7 separate regions of the Homo sapiens genome follow, and regions 1, 2, 3, 4, 5 and 6 are each linked to region 7. The links are contacts of gene promoters, found by promoter capture Hi-C in blood cells and fetal thymus (Javierre and others, 2016). All regions are on one chromosome and are shown on one strand. Each heading gives the region's core, a stretch centred on a gene start or on the middle of the fragment in contact. The rest is flanking DNA. Distances are from core to core; before and after follow the strand shown.

Region 1 (2,700 bases), core at 193-2,692, 1.5 Mb after region 7:
CTGTTTATGGGATGTTAAATACTTTTATTACAGCAGAGTTGACATTGTGTTTTCTTGCTTCTGTGAGACAGAATGATTGGAGGAACACAGACCCTGTTTTATTTATCTTTCGTTTTTTAATTTTTCTTCTTTGCTGCCTGGCCAGTGCTTATCTGTGGTAGGTGTGCCAGCATTCATTGAACGGAGTGGTTTGCTAGCATTCAAAGCATAAAGAAGAAAAGCTGCATTTGTCAGGAAGTCATTCTTCCTCATTCTGAGCATCCCAGTTAACATGCCTTTTTACCAGGTGGAAGGAAATAGTATAGTACTAGCTGTTCTGTAGAATTTTGAAAGAAATCCTTCTCCTAGCAAAGACTGTAAGAGGGCTTTGTATGCTAATTCGGGGTTATCCCCTCTTCTCCTTTAATCTCAGAGCATTAAAAACAGTTAAGGGCTTTTTTAAAATAGAAGGTATTCACTCAAAATATTACATATCTATAACTTCTTAAAATACAGAAGCTTTAAATTTTGTTAGTGGGGTAAGAATTATAGTAAGTTGTATTATGCCATAACCTACATATACTAACAGACCACTTTCGTAAGTATGTACTAGCCCTGTTGAGTTGACCACTTAGAAGTATACTCAAACTGCACTGCCACATTTCCCCAAAGGTAACAAGTAAACATAGGAGAAAACATACACTGCAGCCTTCATGTAACACTGACTTGGGATCTTTTTAATGAACACCCAAATGGTGAAGGAACAGAGGTTTTCATTTCACTGTGCCATGCATTCTGTACCAGTGCCCCCAGATAAGGGCAGGATGCATGGCCTTGCTGAGAACACCCCTCCCCCCACAGTAGTAGTGTAGGAAGTTCCAACCTACTTCTCTAGTGTAACGTCTCTCTAGGTTTATGCATCAGTTGTCTTGTAGACATTCCCAGCCCTAGATTTGTCAAGTAGCAAGGGGGGATTCTTAAAAGGAAAAACACGTTTAGCCAAAAACTGTTTTGTTTTGTTTTTAAAAACATCCTTCTTACTTACTGATCTGTGTTCAACAATTAGGGAAGAGGATACTCACAATGTTTCATTTTTCCCCAAAGGTTTCTAAAGGTTTTTCCTCAAGTACCAAGGACACAACAAAGGAAAGAATAAACAGTGGAATTTTTAGCGCAGAATGTCAAAAGAATACAAGGTTTTATGGGTTTTTGTTGGAAAGGAACAAGTGGGAAATGGGACCATATTAATTTTAAACTCCCTCTGTTGGGTGCTCAGAACATAGTTTACCTTAAGCCTGATGGATGTTCTGAGTTTCTCCCCGCAGGGAGATAGGTGAAAGAGTCCTAGTATTTAGAAGTACTGTTACAAAGCTGATTACTCTGATGAGTGATATAAGTGTTTTAAAGCAATATTTAGTCTAAGTAGTAAATATTCCTAAGACAGACAGTAACTTTACAATTCATTTGTTTTGTTGTCTTAAATGGCAGAACAATGTTGTTTTTCTGTCACTAACGTTTTTATATGTTTTCTAAGATGATGAATCATACAGAATCACCAAACTCATATTTCTGTTCAGGTCTGACCATTTTTACAATTTTCATTTGCCTATGTAAATATTACCCACATATTATAGTTCATAATTTGTGATATGTCAGCAGATTTCATTGAACTTGAGTCTTAGGTCACAATAGAACTAACAACATATTGGCTTCATTCTAGTCCAATTTGTTTTCTTTTATGCCTACACACCAAGGGTGTTCGCTTGAAAACAAGTCTTCCTTCACCTCCTGCTTTTTCTCCTCACCTGCTCTTTAAAAAATAATTGTACCTGACTCAAATTGATAGTCTTCTAGGATTTTCATTCGCTAACTCAAATTGCTAGTCTTCTAGAGTTTTCATTTGCTACCAAGTTAACTTGCTTACTAACTTGATTTGTCTTATCTCTTTTAGATTTATTTAAAATCCCTACCAATTTTAAGAGTCACTGCATATTCTTGATTACTTCTGCATGGCTATATCTCCATGTCCCCCTCTCCGAATTCTGATGTGTATTTGACTTGTTTGGATTATATTTCCTCCTGGCAAGTTTTGACTTCGTTGCAGTTTGACGTTTTCTTGACCTGTCAGTGCTCATGATTGTTTCCGTGGCTTAACAAAGTGTACATATTTAGTTTCATTATTGTATAAATTTGTTGATTTTTCTGTTCATCTATTAACACATTTAGAAGAAAGAACTTTTCTTTTTCCAAATTTGAACAGAACATCTCAATTCTATTAGTGATGTGCTTAGTAATGTGTATTGGATTGATTTATTGTGGTACATTAATAACTTGAATGTGGTAGTTTTTAATGGAATCTGCCAGCTACATTTCTGAGAGACATGAGTGTGCCAAAGAAACACCATAACCAAGCTTTTACACTACTGCCTTATTTTCTTTCTGGAACTAGGCAGGTGTAAAGAGATGATTTAGAAAACCTTTTTGCATTTTATCTTTTTCTTAGTGTTTATCTGGGTTTCAGCTGCAAGGAATATAGCCCCTTTCGTTTGATGATGTTTATCCATATTTAAACATGGCCACCTGAAAGTTTAGCCTTAGTGTTTTATCTTAAATATGTCAGTGACTTTGGAGACTGTTGAAGTACATCCATAATGTTTGTATGTTAGTTTAAAAGTAAAAAAGACTTGGTCGGGCGTGGTGGCTCATGCCTGTAATCCCAGT
Region 2 (2,700 bases), core at 201-2,700, 1.6 Mb after region 7:
AACTGTCTGCACAGTCCGTTACCAAAAGAACTCCATCGATGACTGAAGCCAGTCTCATTAGTTGGTATGCAACCTGACATCTCTATACCCCATGCCTCATGGCCCTAGGTTGTAACTTATTACATCTGTAGAGGTAAAACCAGCCTAAGCTGATGTGGCAAGGGATAAATCCTTCATGCCCCAAAATTCTTTTTCCCACAATGCTGAGATTCCTGTTAGAGTTTATTTTTGAGATAACTAAGTGATAGCTTCCCTTAAGGTCAATTTACTTAATAAGATTTCTCAACATCTATGTAGACATACTGAGAGGATGAGGGTTGTAACTAGGGTGAAATGGAGAGAAAGGATAGGAGGAGAAATAAAAAGATGGGGAGATATTGAAAAATCTTTGGCAGAGAGTGGCATGACGATATTTGTGCGTTAGAAAGAGCACCCTTGCAGTACCTTGAAGAAAGAATTACATGGGCCAGTACAAAAGGCAGAGAGAAAGTCAGAAGGCAATTGCAGTATCCAGAACCTAGGTGAAGGTAGCATCATGGGAATGAGGAGGAAGAGACAAATCTGAGCGATATTAAACAGCAGAATTGAAAGATTGTAGAAATGATCTTGGGGGAAGGGTATGCGGAGGATGGAGAATGACATCGAGGATGCGTCTGCTATCCAGGCTTGGTCACCTGTGTGAACGCTGGTGCCATTACTGATACAAGGAAATCACAGGGGGAGTAGGTTGGAGGACAAGATGTGCTTTGGCCATGTTAAAATATTCGAGTTGCCTGGAGGATATCCAAGTAGAAGTTTCCAGTAATACTGTATATGCACATGAGTACCTCCAGAGATACTTTGGTTGCAAATAATAAATGTGCAAGCTATTGACATATAAATGGTCACTGAAGCGATTGATATATCATTTAGGGTTGTACTCAGCTGCACGTAAAAGTGACTGGACTACATAGCCTACAAATGAGAGAAGGTAAGCAGGTCAGGGCTGGTGTATTAGGCCTAGGGTGTCATCAATGTTGCCATGCTTTATCTTCCCGCTCCACTCTTCTCAGCATGAGGCTTTCACCCTCAGGCTCCAACTCTGATCTCCAATCTACAATCAGGGAAAGAAAAAGGAGAATAAAAAGGTAGTGCCTGTGTCAGGAAGACAGAAACTTTCCTTAAAATGCTTACGAGATTTTCACTCACATTTCATTTGACTAGAACTCCCTAGCTATAAGGAAGTCTGAGAAGAATGGACATCAAGCAGGCAACTCTACAGCATCTACCACAATGAGTCACAAGGGAAACGGGGGAGAATACTCAGGAGAATATGTTCAGTGAGGAAAAACCAAGACCAGAACCCCGATGAAGACCAAGATTTAAGGCATAGACAAGAAGCAGAATAGATAAAGGAGACAAGAGCTCATCTTCAGAAACTAGAAACGCACAGGGTCAGGGAAATCAAGAGAGGAGAATGTTTTAAAGAAAGGTCAGTAATTTCAAAAGCCACAGACGTCAGGTAAGATAAGAACTTAAGTCTCACAAGGTGAATGGCAAGGACCATTCCAGTGAAGCCGACTAGAAGGAAACATGATCATAGCTGGGCAAGCATGGTCATGGAGATGATGTGCATAGCCTACTTTGTCCAGAAGTCTGTCTAGGAGCAAAAGTGAAGGGAACAACGTGGAAGAATTATTTGGGCAATTATGCAACCTCCAGAAGAGGGCAGCAGAGTAAAACTTTTAATTTGCACTGCCTGCCAGATATCTGAAAATCAAAGGTTATCTCACCCCTTCCTCAGGAATAGAGCAGAAATCTCAGTGTTCCCCCTTAGAATACTGAAAAAAACTCAAAACTATCACTAAGAGTTGCATTTTTCCATTCTAAAACCTAGATTCTATGCTTATCTATTGCATAACAGGGTATTCCTAGTCCCTCTACCCGCTCCTAACAGTCTACAACAAAAGGAGAGGCTGTAGCAAGATACTTGATGCCCTTTCCTGGTCTCTTGTTCTCAGAACCACTCTACTCTCAGCTGGCTGGGTCATCCATCCATTCATCCATCCATCCATCCATCCAACCATCCATCCATCCATCCATCCATCCATCCATCCATCCATCCATCCATCTGTCCATCCATCCATCCATATCCATCCATGCATCTATCCATCCATGCATCCTGCCAACTACTGTTCCTCTGAGCTTTTCAAACTCTATTTCCAGCTAGTACTCTGCTACTAGAACATTCAATGACTATCTACTGCTGACTACCTCAAATGTCCATGTTTTTTAATGGTCTGACCTTATTCTGCCTAAATCTTTATTTCCTACTATCCGTAATACAAAATTTCTGTTCTACTCCTTTCGTTACATTCCTGCTCTCTGAATCCATTGTGTTCCACCCCACCTCTGCACCTTCCCTCACACCAGTGGTTTTCAAACTTTTTGTTCTCAGAGCAGTCAAGAAGTGCTGCCACAGAACCTTCCAGTCGATTCCCAAGACTGCCAAAACTAGCTGGTGTACTACATACCTATATGGAGCATGCTGCACAGTATAGTCCTAATAGATTTGTATATTTATTACATTTTTTTACAGTCGATGGCAGTAAAGTGGCCAAAGGAAAAGGTGCCTTTTGCTAATTCATACAAAGACTAGCAGAGATCATTTTCTCCTCCTTTTTATGCAATATTTTAGGTCCTGCAGCACAAAATTATTTT
Region 3 (2,700 bases), core at 187-2,686, 1.9 Mb after region 7:
CAGCCTCCCAAGTAACTGGGATTACAGGCACCTACAACGATGCCATGTTGGGTTTTGCCATGTTGGCCAGGCTGGTCTCGGACTCCTGACCTCAAGCGATCCACCTGCCTTGGCCTCCCAAAGTGCTGGAATTACAGGCGTGAGCTACTGCACCCAGCTGAGTTTATTTTTGTATATGGTTTGGGTAGGGGGGTCCAATGGCTATTTAGTTGTCCAGTCTGTTTTTTTGAAAAGACAATTCCGTATTGAATCATCTTAGCACTCTTGTTGAAAATAACTTGGATATAAATGTGTGGGCTTATTTCTGGTTTATATGTCTGTTCTTAGGCCATACTACAGTTTTGATCACTATGGCCAAGGTGCGAGGATTGCTTGATTCCAGGAGTTTGAGACCAACCTGGGCAACGTAGACCCCATCTCTACGAAAAATATTTTTAAAATTAGCTTGGTGTGGTGGGGCATGCCTATATTCCCAGCCACTTGGGAGGATGAGGTGGTAGGGTCGTTTGCACCCAGGTGGTGGAGGCTGCATTGAGTCATGGTAGTGCCACTGTACTCCAGCCTGGGTGATAGAGTGAGACTTTGTCTCGAAAAATAATCAAAATGGGCAAAGGACTTGAATATTTTTCCTAAGAAGATCTACAAATGGCCAGCTCACTGTTACTTTACAGTAAGTTTTGAAATAGGGAAGTGTGAGTTCTGTAACTTTATTCTTTTTCTGAATTGTTTTTGGATGTTTAGGGCCCCTCGCACTTCCAAAGGAAATTGAGAATAGCCTTTTTTATTTCTGTACAAAAGAGAGTGTTGGATTTTTTTTCTTTTTTGAAATAGTGAAACTTAGTGAAAGGTTCTCTTATCCCCTTTGCAGGGCATGTGATGGGGGTGTGCCTTGCTTCTTTGGCACCCCACTGCTCAAATCTCTAGGGAGAGCATGCAGACAGGGCAGGCTGTGGGACTCCGACCCCACGGCAGCACCTAGGGGTGAATGTTTACAGCTCCTGAAGCCCCAGTGGGCATGTGTTACAGGGTGCCCTTTTAGTCTAGCCATCCATAGGCGGCTTGTGTTAGCTCAGTTAGATGCCCTGCCTTATCGCAAGGACAGAGGGCTTTTTTGCCTTGGTGTATGGGAAGAATCAGATCACACGTGGGCTTGGAGAACGAGTGCAAGGTTTTATTGAGTGGAAGTTTCCAGCAGATGGATGGGAAGCCAGGAGGGAGATGGAGTGGGAGGGTGTTTTCCCCTGGAGTCCTGCAGCTCAGTGACCTGGGCTCTCCTCTGACCGCACCAGCCAAACCCAGCCAAACTTCATGCCCTTCTTTGGTCGATGGCCTGCCAGCCTGCTTTCTGTCAGTGTGGTATTCCACTGGCATGCTTCCCTGGACATCCAGCTATTTGTGTGTTCTTCCGCCGATATGTCCCTCTCGATGACGTCCAGCCACTTGTGTCTCTGCCTACTAGAGTCTCTGAGGGTTTTATAGGCACACGATGGGGGTGTGACTGGCAGAGTGGTCTTGGGAAATGCATCATTTGGTCAGGAAAACAGAAATGCCTGTCCTCACCTAGATCCGTGGGCACAGAACCGGGGATGGAGCCCTCGCGAGGGACCATGCCCTTCCCTTCCCAGCGCTTGCCTGCACACTTCTGTATCAGTAGGGTCTTACTCTTTCTCAGGGGATTGGAGCCCTAGCCAGGGACCATGCCCTTTTCTTCCCAGCACTTCCTTGCCTCCCTCCATATCAATAGAGTCTCATTTTGTTGCTCAGGCTGGAGTGCAGTGGTGTGATCTTGGCTCACTGCAACCTCCACTTCCCGGGCTCAAGCAATCCTTCCGCCTCAGTGTCCCAAGTAGCTGGGACCACAGGTACGAGCCACCATGCCTGGCTGATTTTTTTATTTTTAGTAGGGACGGGGTTCACCATGTTGCCCAGGCTGGTCCTGAGCCACTGAGCTCAAGTGATCTGCTCACCTTGTCCTCCCACAGTGCTGGGATTATAGGCGTGAACCACTGTAGCCTGGCCGGGTGTTGGAATTTTAATAGAGATTACGTTGAATCTGTAGATCATGTTTGGGTAGTGTTGTTGTCTTAACAGTGTTGAGTTTCCCAGTCCTCAAACACAGGGATATCTGTCTTTTGTTTTTCTTTTTTTTTTTTTTTTTTTGAGACAGAGTCTCACCCCGTCGTCCAGGCTGGAGTGCAATGGCGTGATCTCGGCTCACTGCAACCTCTGCCTCCTGGGTTCAAGCGATTCTCCTACCTCAGCCTTCCAAGTAGCTGGGATTACAGGTGCCTGCCTCCATGCCCAGCTAATACTTTATTTTAGCAGAGATGGGGTTTCACCATGTTGGCCAGCCTGGTCTCAAACTCTTGACCTCATGTGATCCACCTGCCTGGGCCTCCCAAAGTGCTGGGATTACAGGCTTGAGCCACTGTGCTGGGCCAGGGATGTCTTTCTGTTTAGGTCTTTTAACATTTCTTTCAGCACTGTCTTAATAGTTTTTGGTGTGCAAGTCTTAACATTTTCTTGGTTATATTTATTTATTATAGGTATTTTATGCTTTTGGATTTTACTGCGAATTGAGTTGTTTTCCTAATTTCTTTTTTGGATTGTTAATAGTGTATACACAAACAGCTGTTTTTGTGTGTTGATCTTCTATCTTGGCAGCGTTCCTGAATTTAATTAGCTCTAATACATATTTTT
Region 4 (2,700 bases), core at 191-2,690, 1.6 Mb after region 7:
TTCAATCTTAGTTCCCAACTCTGCTGATCATAGTTCATTTCCACATTTATGGATTGAAAAATGAAAATACTCTTGATAAATCAAGATATAGTTCTATACATACTGACATCACTGATGTCATAGTGAGAAAGGTTCAAACTTCCAGTGAAAGACTATGCAAACCTGATAGCTCCCCTCAAGTTTACTGGTGCTGCACACGCAGTTCCGGGATCCTCACTCAGGTCACTCAGAGTGTAGGGCCGCGTGCTGATGCAGAGCATGGGCACTGATGAAACCATTGGTCTCGTTGGCAGAGAGACTGCCAAAGTCAGCCACAGAAACAGCCATTTTGGCACTGGTGATGTGATGTGTGTGATTTTCAAAGTCCACACCCAGGTTATTTACAGAAACTTCATTCATAAAGGATTCAGGGACGGCAATGCCCATTTTCAATCTTTTTGCTGGTCTCTCTGACTCTTCACTGCACATGTTCATAGGGTTTAGCTCCGAGTGATAAAATCCAGTCTCAAATAAATTAAAACAATCACTTTCCCCATTGCTGGGCAGGGTGAGTAACTCTTCTGTTACAACAGGCACATGATTAACTTGTCCACGGGGTGTGTTGCCCAGTGGAGGAAAGCTATCATCCAAACAATTCACATCTGTGGGGTCGCAGACGGTTGCTACACTGTTGGTCAAAGCTAAAAAGGAATGGAAAATTGTTTAAGTAAGTGGTCCTATGACATCAAACAGAGGACACAATTTTGCAACAAACTGTACTAAATGCAGAAAGGTCTTCATTTTACCTGTCAAGTCACTGGCAGTGAAGGAGTTGAGAATGTTTAGCTGTTGATCAGGAATAGGCTCAGGCCGGTTAGAAGTTAAGGCTGAAGCATTTACCGTCCCACCCAAAGCTTCTGTTTCATCTACTAAACGATCCATATAGTCCCTGAAAAACACACCCCAGTAATTTTATGACTATATATTACAGTTAAAAGTAAGTCTTTGAAGGCAAGGCCACAGTACTTACGTAACTCCAGGGTGATGGTTATATCTTTTTTTCCCAAATCTTGTCTGTTGAGCAAAGTAATCATAACGTTCAGATTTCTTCCACATATAGTAGAATGCTACACACTCAGCAACTGTCCTAGTTCTCACCTAATGAAAAAGTTGAATTTTTAAAAAACCAACAAACTCAACCATTTTTTTAAGCAACTTTTCTTTTCCACAACACTACAACTTCAATCCATGGGTCTTATTTTCCCATTATATAGTTCTGAACACTTTTAATAAATTATAAAGTTCTGAACACTTTGATTAGTGGAATGCCTTTACATTTAATAATGAGGCCATTTTCGAAAGCCCAAGGTTTTTTTTTTAAAAAAATCAGAATGTATTAGTTTATAAAACAAGTGTGTATCCAGAAATTATCTTACACCTTCACTGAAAATCTTAAACACTAGCATTCTTTACTTTTCTTTACTGAGCTCTGTGATTTTGACTACAGTGAGGGTTCTTAACTTTGGATTAACTAACCCCTGAGGGGTCCATAAATGGATTTCATTGAGATCTATTAATTCACAAAATTATATTTAGGTATATTTTTCTGGAGAGAAGGAATGCAGCCTCATCAGATTTGAGTTCCACTTTCCAAAAGAGATTAAGAACCCTTGGCAAATGGACCAACGGTCTACAGCATCTGGAATTTAAGATGACTTGCTAGCTAAAGGCAGGGCTTTCTCCCTCCAGTATGTTTGGTTTTTAGATCCAACAGATTTTGGAAACAACAACAATAAAATTTGAGCCTCACCACCTTGGCTCCACACCCAAACCAGGGTTCCTCTAACCACATACAGCCACAGATATGAATTCAGATGTATGAACAAAATTCTTCATCCTTATCCAATAAATGCTTTCTCCCTTGCTTAATCAGTACCCGATAAAGAAGTTTCAGTATCTCTAACCTGACTCCTGAGTAAGTTGTGATATAAGATTACTAATATGGGAATAAGCTTTTTAAACCAAGAAATACAGTATACCTTTCAATAAACATCATTAACTATAAGTCTTCGCAGAGAATGCAGGCTTCGTGGGGCTACAGACCTTTTCTGTCTTATTCACTGTTGTATCTCTAGTGCCTAAAACAATGTCTGGTAAGTGAAGTGGAAGGACATAACTGTTTACGGAATGAATGGATAGAGTAAATTTCATAAGTCATTACAAAACTGATGGTTTTTTTTACTTAAAAGGACAATCCAGACTTCTTTAAAAATGTCTTAAATTATACGCTTTATCTCATCTTTGAGAAACATTAGATTTTCAAACATACAGAAAGTGTGAAATTTTCAACATCAATACTGGAAGGTCTAGCTAATGCAGTAAGACAAGAAAAAGAAATAAAAAGTATACAGATTGGGAAGGAAGAAATAAAACTGTCTCTGTTTACAGGTGACATGACTGTCTACGTAGAAAACTCCAAAGAATCAACAAAAAATCGCCTGTAACTAATAAGCACTTACAGCAAAGTTTCAGGAGACAAGGTTAATACACAAAAGTCAACTGCTTTCCTATATAACAGCAATGACGATTGAAATTTGAAATTTAAAACACAAGACCATTTACATTAGCACCCCAAAATTAAAATACTTGGGTATAAATATAACAAAATATATGCAAAATCTGTATGAGAAAAACTACCAAACTCTGATTAAAGAAATCAAA
Region 5 (2,700 bases), core at 123-2,622, 1.6 Mb after region 7:
TCTTAATTTTTTTAAAGCAAGTTTTGTTATTTTTCATTTTAGCCACGAGTTGTCAAGTCCTGTGGATTCCCCTTCTTCCCTCAGAGCTGCACAGCAGCAAACCGTACAGCAGCAGCCTTTGGCTGGATCACGAAGGAATCAAGAGAGCAATTTTAACCTTACTCATTATGGAACTCAGCAAATCCCTCCTGCTTACAAAGATTTAGCTGAGCCATGGATTCAGGTAAGTAGTTCTTTGTTTTTCATTTCTCAAAGAAATATTTATAGATCAATTAATGTATTTGTCTCCTTCCCTCAGTTGTTCATAATTTAAAAAAACACTTTTACTTGCCTCCATCATGACCTTCATTCCACTGGAAATTTTAATGTTACTTTTGGTATTAATACTATACTGCTTATTGTACAGCTTCAACTTCAAAACTTCTTGTGGTTTCACTTCACATATCTAGAAACATCTCTTCCTGAACTAACGGACATACGGGGTTATTCAAGGATAGAAGGATAGAAACCAGAACCCTTCAATGCTAACTTTTCCCAATGTTTAATCCCCGTGCCTGCCAAGAATTTTTATCATGTTTCTTATTTGCTGCCATTTAAAATTAATTTCTCTTTTCATATCCTAATGGCATACAATGGGTGCTTAATAATTGCAGAGGAGATGAATAAGAAAAAAATATGTGATGGTTACCTTGAGTTCATCATTTTTATTTGTAAGAACAGTTTCCCATCCCTTTACCATCTCTTCTGATTGAATGTTTTTTCATCCTCAGTAAGTAGGGCTTTTTTGTCAGTTGGTTTGTAATGATTTTCTTGGTTGTTGAATGCTCAGTCTATTATTTTTTAAATGTAGGATCTAAAACCAGACGGGTCTCCAGTAGACAATAATAAAGTAAAATAATTATTTTCAATAATCTGTTAAATTCTGTTGAATTAAATTTGTGAACAGGTGCATTAACACATTGAGCTTATATATCATTAGGATTTGTTACATTTTTCTTTTGTGACCATTACAGTCCTGCAGCTTTGGAATTCTCTTAGCATATTAGCAACCCATTTATGAATCTAATAAAATCTGCAAAAATATTAAACACATTCTTGTACCTAGTTCATTAATGAAATTTAATGAACTATTAATGAACATAGGCCCTCACCTGCCCTTTCATGACCCATCAAAGAACTCTCAAGTTGATTCTGAGCTGTTAGAGTTCATTCTTTCAAGCATATGGTCTAGTTTGTTTTGCCTAAGCTTTAGGTCAGACTAGGCTCTACATTCCTAGCTTTTTATTAAGCATGTTAGGTAAGACAGTTAAAACATAGGTAGTGGTACACTACTTAACAGTACCAGAAGCTCACTATATTCTAGTTGGTTCATTCTCCCATAATATCCCTTTATAACAAAACATATGTAAATAAGTATGTTATGATCTGTTTTTCAAAAGTTGTGTTTATTCATCTTTAATATTTAGGCATTTTTCACATAATGAATTATCTTAGGTATTAAGCTTACTTTTAGCTAATTGGCCCATAATGTCAAGACCATTCACCCTTTCCTCACTGTAGGGACTCTGGCTTTTGGGGCATGGTATTGACGACGATAACAGCATATACTATAATTCTACGTCTACATTTATCCTTTGCTTACTCGAACACAAGCATTTTTTCTTCAGTTGTTTGATTTGTCCACTCCATTCGTTTTACAGTCCTACCTGTTTTGTCTAGTTTTTTAAACCTTTTTATACAGACAAAAACCAATTAAATGTGTTTTGCTTATTGCTCTTGTCTGTAAGAGAAATACTCTATATCTCTTGAAACCTTCTCCTGGTGCTTTTTTTGATTTGTTTTTTGTTTGTTTGTTTGTTTTCTTAATCTTGCTCCAGTTTTTCTCTTTAAACTACCTTAATATGAATACAGAGTTGAGGTTTTCACAGTTTTTTGGCGTTTTGGTAAGCATGTGGGACAGTAGAGGCATAGAATGTATGTATAGCCATCTAGTGACTTAATGGAGCTTATTATTAATTTTACCTGAGCTAATAAATATTAATGACTTTGGATAATTATCAGTTAAACTTGAGTATAAAATTCTTCCTTATGATGCTTAAGTGGCTGGATATATTTGAAGTTGTGAAGGATGGTAAAGATTTCAGAAATGTCCAGTTTTTACGTAGTAATCAAAAATGATGCTAAACTCAAAATGCTCTGGGTCCATAAGCTTTTCTTTACATTGAATTCATCGTGTGTGTTTGATACAGGTGTTTGGAATGGAACTCGTTGGCTGCTTATTTTCTAGAAACTGGAATGTGAGAGAGATGGCCCTCAGGCGTCTTTCCCATGATGTCAGTGGGGCCCTGCTGTTGGCAAATGGGGAGAGCACTGGAAATTCTGGGGGCAGCAGTGGAAGCAGCCCGAGTGGGGGAGCCACCAGTGGGTCTTCCCAGACCAGTATCTCAGGAGATGTGGTGGAGGCATGCTGCAGCGTTCTGTCAATGGTCTGTGCTGACCCTGTCTACAAAGTGTACGTTGCTGCTTTAGTAAGTAGCTTTATTCCATAATCATATCATTATGGGTTTGGGGTTTTTTGATGGTTCGTAGATAGTGTTTTTAAGATACAATAAAGCTACTTTACCTAATTTTGGAAAATCCAAATTTTATTTTTATTCCATAATTCCAGGAAATTACAGCTTTTGTTTTGTTTATTTGAAT
Region 6 (2,700 bases), core at 80-2,579, 1.6 Mb after region 7:
GATTGTTATATGCTCCCTATTATAGAACGTAGTGTAGGAAGTCTGAGTCCATGGTATTAAATAAGGATTCAGACAAAGATAAATGAAGCTAAATTTATTAGCAGTTGAAGGTAGCAGAGCTACTTTCCCCCACCTGATCACTAGAGAAAGTTTATCACTCAGTCTTACATAACACATTCCTTTATGATAAAGTGTGTAAAGTCTATATGTAGATGGAGCTCTCATTCTTTCTGATTGACAAGACTTTCATGAGTCAGTACAGATTAAAAATCCTTGTGACCCAAGGAGTTTAAATTAAAATACTATTACTTTTTACTTTTATTATCCTGTAACTATGCAATACAGGGCATTATATAGAAAGTGCTAGATGCTGGGCACTGTGGGACCACCATAAAAATGTCCTTGTCCCCCAAAAGCTTACAATCTAAGTAATTTCCATAGGTGGTAAATGGATATGTGAGCAAGGAAAACTAAAAACCATAGTAACCTCCTAAGGAGAACCAAAATGTCATAGATCCTCCAACCATCTTTAGAAAGGAAATAAATCAATACAGCTTTATTTATAAACATGTAATTTTAGAGGCTTCCAGTAAATTCATACAATAAAATAAAAAAACATATATAAAAAAATGAGGACCAACGAAACTAACTAGACTAGGAGGTTAACACCAAAGAAAAAGTAAGGACAAGGATCTGCAGGTTATGAGGTATTAACACAATACAATAGTTAAGCCATAAATGTAGAGCTTTCTGGCAGCCAAAGCAAAAAAGGTGAATGTAATCAGTTGCTTGCTTCTCATTGGAGAAGCATACAAATGTAGGAGAAATATACAAATTCTTTTGGTAACTGTCTATGAAAGTTGAGAGCACAATATGAATGACCTACTGAAAGCAGTTAATGGGGCCACAGTAATGCAACATAGATATTTAGGCTTCTGCAGATTCCATCTAACCCATGGGAAACTAATAAACCAAAGTTAATGTCTCAATCTCAAATGCCCATAGTAGTCAGGCAGGCATAATGAATGAGTGAAGCAGGCTAGTGTAGACAAACGCAGGAGTAATAGCAAATTTGGAGACGTGTCCTACTTAAAGATGGAAACCACTATGCACTACTTGGGTCAGTTTCAGCTTACTGGCCCAATGTTTCCAGTTTCAATTTTCCAAGAACAGCTGGAAAACTGAATTTTTATGTTATATCTCCTGGTCGTAAAATTTTGTCAACTAATTTTTTAAAAATTTAAACACAGTGTAGATCAAATAAATCATGTTAAGTAAATCATATTTAGCCTGGGAGCTTCCAGTTTGCGAACCTGATCTAGAACATCATCTTAGCGTTACTTCTCAGCATAGCTTGTAAGACTGTAATGCCAACAGTTAGACCCAGCATCAGGCCAAACTACTTGCATTTTTCTAAATTTATCTACTTCTCCTGCGTGATATTCAATTAAATATTTTTTGTTGGAATGAATGGCCACTCTCTGAGAAAGCTAACTGATCATAGTAAGTTTTGCCTAAACAAAAGATTCTTAACAAAAGAAAGATGATCTGCATGGTAACTTTAAAAAAGAGAGAGTTCTCACAGTTCAAAAAAGGTTTCAGTTCGTTTCTAAGAAGGGAACTTGGTCCATATACATGAACATATATCCAGCCTGTGAGTCAGGGCCATTCTTAAAATGAGATGGATGCATCAGGCTGACATAGCTGTGCAAGCATACCCAATTGGAACTTCCAAGTCAATGACTTTAAATTGCAGGAACATCCTCAAAAGAATTTGTAATAACTCTATCCCTTCTTATGTATTCCAATTGACTTCTAATTTTGTCATTATAAATTTAAATGGCTGCAAAGGATGTACTTACCTTTCGTAATGATGGTCATTTAAAAATAAAGCCATTATATAACACTTAAAATGTATGCAATGGAATCTAAATACCATAACAATTTGATATTTCATTATTCTTTTAAAAAGACATAAACATGTTTCTTGAATGGTATGAAATTTTACATGATTCCTTTTTCTCCTTGAACTCATATTCCCATTCTACTTTCTCCAAAGAAGTGTAATATGCTTTATGCTTAGAAGTCTTTTGTTGATACCCTACAATCTTTATCTGCAACAAAAATATCCTTGTAAATTGATAGTAAAGAGAAATAATTTTCCTCCAGATTGAATTATCAGTACAATTACTACTAATTTACATTTGATCTAAGCAATATACATGTATTACAAGTTTTGAGTAAAGCTTTTTGAACAAAAATTGCATTGGAAATCAATCTATTGATAAGATGAATAGGATCTTTAAAAATTAATTCATGTACCCATGGATGAATATTACTTAATGCTAGAATGGGAGTTTAACATCAATTTTATTCTTAGTCTTTATTTATACAGAAGTAAGGTTTGAGAAACCATATTCATACACAAATAGATAGAAATGGAAGGGTTTTGTTACTAAACCATCACTCAATTTGTTGATCTCCTTAGTAATATCTCCTTAGTAATACATCATGTTATGATCTTCTATCAAACATTATTTTTAATGATCTATACGCTGATGTTTTAAATGTGTTCCTTCAACTTTGTTGAAAGCTAAGAGTTAAAAGCTACCTGACTTGAAAGAGGATTTTTTACAAAGCTATTATAGCTCATCACTATAATTCACTTCAATTTTGATGAAGATTACCAAAAAAGCCTTT
Region 7 (2,700 bases), core at 187-2,686:
TATGTTCTGTGAATTCCTCAAGAGCCCCAAGCTCTTTCCTGACTCAAACTTTTTACACATGATGTTCATTACGCCCGCCTGGAATACTAATTTCTGCCATGCTTCACAGAGTTAACTCCTTTTTCATTCTCCTCATCTCAGCTTAACTGTTACATTTCCAGACACCATCCATGATACCTGCTCATCCCGAGAAAAATTAGATTACCCTGTTAAACTGTCTTCCCTGGCTTTTCTTTGTGGCACTTATCTATTATAAGGCTATAAATATGTCTGTGTGCGTTACCTATTAGTTAATACCTATCTCTGACATTAGACTGGCAAGCTCCATGAGGTGATGTCTCTTTTTGCTCATCACATTCCTCACATCTTATCAGACACATACTAAATATTTGCATATATACACATAAATGCTCAGCAAATATTTCTTGAATACTCCAATAAGTACAAGCAAACAACCCGAGAAGAACACAACAGAATGTAATTGTTCATCTTTTGAGCTCAACCGTAATATGTGGCCTGCTCATCTGCAGCAGGAATCGGCCATCTATAAGTTGAGTTGTCAAATCAATTTGTACAGTAAGCAAAACTGCATGGCGGCAGAAACGAGGGCAGACAATTTTACAATAGATTACACGTAACCAGTGTGTAACCAGTGTGTAAGTCCTGTAATTTTTATTAAGTATTGATTTTTCCAGAACGCATGGAGACACTAGATTGTTGCTGAAAATGATATGAAAAACTGACAGAAAATGGGGCTGGCTGGCACCAGGAGGTCAGGAACTCCACTCAGTACTCGTCTTTGCGTTAGCCTAGCTAGCTGAGATGGTGCTCAGGATGAATTCCTGCTGAAACAGGAGCTAATGCAATTATTTTGTTTTTAGAAGGGGGAGAAGTGTGAGTTAAAAGAGAAATGCCAGGCTGCAACAGGGCTACTGTCAGAATTTTGGAGGCCCAAAGAGCTTAGACTTTTTTAATCTAAAACAAGGCCACCCCATGGGGAGGTAGCAGCTCGAGTGTTGGGAAATAGAAATGTTGGGCCCGAAGCTCCTCCCGGGTTCTAAGGCCCTTTCCTCAGGACAAGCAGCAAGGTCTCAGGGCAGACAGCCAGGGGCTGGGGGACCTCTCGTACCTTGCTTGACACGGGGCTCCCTGGAGCCGGCAGCGGCAGCGGCAGCGGTGGCCGGCCTGGACACTGGCTTCTTGCTTTGGGCCTCCCCGGCAATTCCAGCCTCGGCAGATTTGGCTCTGGAAGCAGACACGGCGGCCCGGACCACCGCGGCCGCTGGAGCCTTGTGTTTCTTGTTCTTGCCGCCCATGTTGCAGCTGTGGCAGAAGATCCTTCGCGGCCCAGGCCCCGACGGTACCACTGCACAGCCGAGAGCTCTTCACATTCCCCGGCTCCGGGGCTGCCACCCTGCGCTTCGATCCGGGCTTCTCGGGCCGGGGCGACCGCTGCCTCGCAATTGGTCGAATTCAGCAGGCTCCGCCTCCTTGAGTCGCCAGCTGCCTGCCACACGCCAGGCGCCACGCGCCGCCCTCGCTCTTTATCCACTGAGCAGCTTATCCACTTTAGGTCGGAAAGGAAAGGAAAGAAAAGCAGGAAAAAAAAAAAAAGTCAGGGGAACATTTTTGTCGGCTGCGCGACTCGACTACTTTTGTCTCCTGCGGGCCACTGTTGAGCCTTCACGAGACGTCACTGTCTTCGGTCGCGGGGCATCGTGGGTAGGAGGGAGATTTGCTCTCACTGCTCCCAAAAATGGCGGACGCATTCGGAGATGAGCTGTTCAGCGTGTTCGAGGGCGACTCGACCACTGCGGCGGGAACCAAAAAAGACAAGGAAAAGGACAAGGGGAAATGGAAGGGGCCTCCAGGGTCTGCAGACAAGGCAGGGTAAGGAAGAAGTTCCAGTTGTTGCTTTTATTTTTTTTCTCGGTGGGGAGGAAGAAAACACTACTCTCTTAGGAAGAGCACGAGAAAGTGAAGTGTACATTGAGTGGCGTTGGAAGTGAAGGGGTTCCAGAAAAAAGTTGGAGAGGGTGGAAGAATGTTGGTTCGTGGAAGGGGGGTCTTGGCGTTTCCTGGTGTCTGCAGGCAGCGTGATCTTCTGCTTCAATTCCCTTACGTCGATGTTACTGATTCTGTCCCCATCTTCGCGGTTGTCTCCTGCATCAGCACAACACCTGGCACATAGTCGTTAATAAACAAAACGAATGATTAGTTGAGTAAAAGGTGAAAAGGTTTAGAAAAAATGATATGAATTGATTTGGAGGGGAAAGGGCAGATAATAACATGAGAAGGGAGAGACATTTAATCTCCAAGATGTAGTAGTTTTCTCTTCCGTAAAATGGAGATAATAGTGCCTACCACTGGTGGATATGAGGATTCAATGAGATACACGTGTAAAGTGCCTAACAGTGGTTAGCTAGCTATCACTAATAAATGGTAGCTATCGTGAGTTTATTGAGAAAAAATTTAAAAATTACTGGACCCTACCCATATGTTTAGACTGGTGCATACAGCCACCAGAAAGTGTACAGATCTGTTTATAGTAGAACAAGGAAAAGCTATTACTTGTATTAAATAAAGTAAGATGATTAATTAACAATCAACAAAATATACTCTTGGCATTGTGGGGCCAGATACCCAATAGATGCTTGAAATTAAATTAGACATGATTTTGCTCTCAAGGAATTTTCGGTG

The links. Contacts are between HindIII fragments. The CHiCAGO score rates a contact against its expected background, and 5 or more counts as called.
Region 1: a fragment that was not itself captured here is called in contact with the fragment with the promoter of DHX29 in region 7 in 1 of 17 cell types (fetal thymus); the score reaches 5.2 in fetal thymus.
Region 2: a contact is called between a fragment that was not itself captured here and the fragment with the promoter of DHX29 in region 7, in 1 of 17 cell types (fetal thymus). The highest score is 5.2, in fetal thymus.
Region 3: a fragment that was not itself captured here is called in contact with the fragment with the promoter of DHX29 in region 7 in 1 of 17 cell types (monocytes); the score reaches 5.0 in monocytes.
Region 4: a contact is called between a fragment that was not itself captured here and the fragment with the promoter of DHX29 in region 7, in 3 of 17 cell types (monocytes, naive CD8 T cells and total CD4 T cells). The highest score is 6.9, in monocytes.
Region 5: a contact is called between a fragment that was not itself captured here and the fragment with the promoter of DHX29 in region 7, in 4 of 17 cell types (monocytes, total B cells, total CD8 T cells and 1 more). The highest score is 7.8, in monocytes.
Region 6: a fragment that was not itself captured here is called in contact with the fragment with the promoter of DHX29 in region 7 in 3 of 17 cell types (monocytes, total B cells and non-activated CD4 T cells); the score reaches 7.0 in monocytes.

The regions. Positions count from the first base shown.
Region 1 is chr5:56,844,650-56,847,349 of GRCh38, forward strand. The region is part of intron 1 of MAP3K1 (mitogen-activated protein kinase kinase kinase 1); the gene reads left to right. Among named protein-coding and RNA genes, the nearest start is that of MAP3K1, 30 kb to the left of the region's middle. The HindIII fragment of the contact is 1,893 bases long and covers 497-2,389 here.
Region 2 is chr5:56,899,323-56,902,022 of GRCh38, forward strand. LOC105378980 (a long non-coding RNA gene) reads right to left here and starts at 744. Exons shown (of 3, transcript XR_948347.4): 1 at 675-744. RefSeq lists an enhancer at 413-582. The HindIII fragment of the contact is 7,054 bases long and covers 1-2,700 here.
Region 3 is chr5:57,206,515-57,209,214 of GRCh38, forward strand. All of the region lies in intron 2 of GPBP1 (GC-rich promoter binding protein 1), which reads left to right. Among named protein-coding and RNA genes, the nearest start is that of GPBP1, 34 kb to the left of the region's middle. The HindIII fragment of the contact is 3,262 bases long and covers 1-2,700 here.
Region 4 is chr5:56,922,906-56,925,605 of GRCh38, forward strand. It overlaps MIER3 (MIER family member 3), which reads right to left. Exons shown (of 13, transcript NM_001297599.2): 11 at 1,010-1,137; 12 at 786-928; 13 at 1-680. The coding sequence ends at 223. It also overlaps a transcript of SETD9 not described here. Among named protein-coding and RNA genes, the nearest start is that of SETD9, 15 kb to the left of the region's middle. The HindIII fragment of the contact is 1,098 bases long and covers 892-1,989 here.
Region 5 is chr5:56,872,783-56,875,482 of GRCh38, forward strand. It overlaps MAP3K1 (mitogen-activated protein kinase kinase kinase 1), which reads left to right. Exons shown (of 20, transcript NM_005921.2): 9 at 43-223; 10 at 2,250-2,528. Among named protein-coding and RNA genes, the nearest start is that of SETD9, 35 kb to the right of the region's middle. The HindIII fragment of the contact is 256 bases long and covers 1,245-1,500 here.
Region 6 is chr5:56,954,309-56,957,008 of GRCh38, forward strand. No RefSeq gene overlaps it. Among named protein-coding and RNA genes, the nearest start is that of MIER3, 3.5 kb to the left of the region's middle. The HindIII fragment of the contact is 1,830 bases long and covers 415-2,244 here.
Region 7 is chr5:55,306,258-55,308,957 of GRCh38, forward strand. It overlaps DHX29 (DExH-box helicase 29), which reads right to left and starts at 1,437. Exons shown (of 27, transcript NM_019030.4): 1 at 1,130-1,437. The coding sequence starts at 1,316. It overlaps MTREX (Mtr4 exosome RNA helicase), which reads left to right and starts at 1,732. Exons shown (of 27, transcript NM_015360.5): 1 at 1,732-1,890. The coding sequence starts at 1,757. It overlaps LOC124900979 (a long non-coding RNA gene), which reads right to left. Exons shown (of 2, transcript XR_007058774.1): 2 at 1,892-2,180. RefSeq lists enhancers at 1,106-1,365, 1,506-1,985. The HindIII fragment of the contact is 7,705 bases long and covers 1-2,700 here.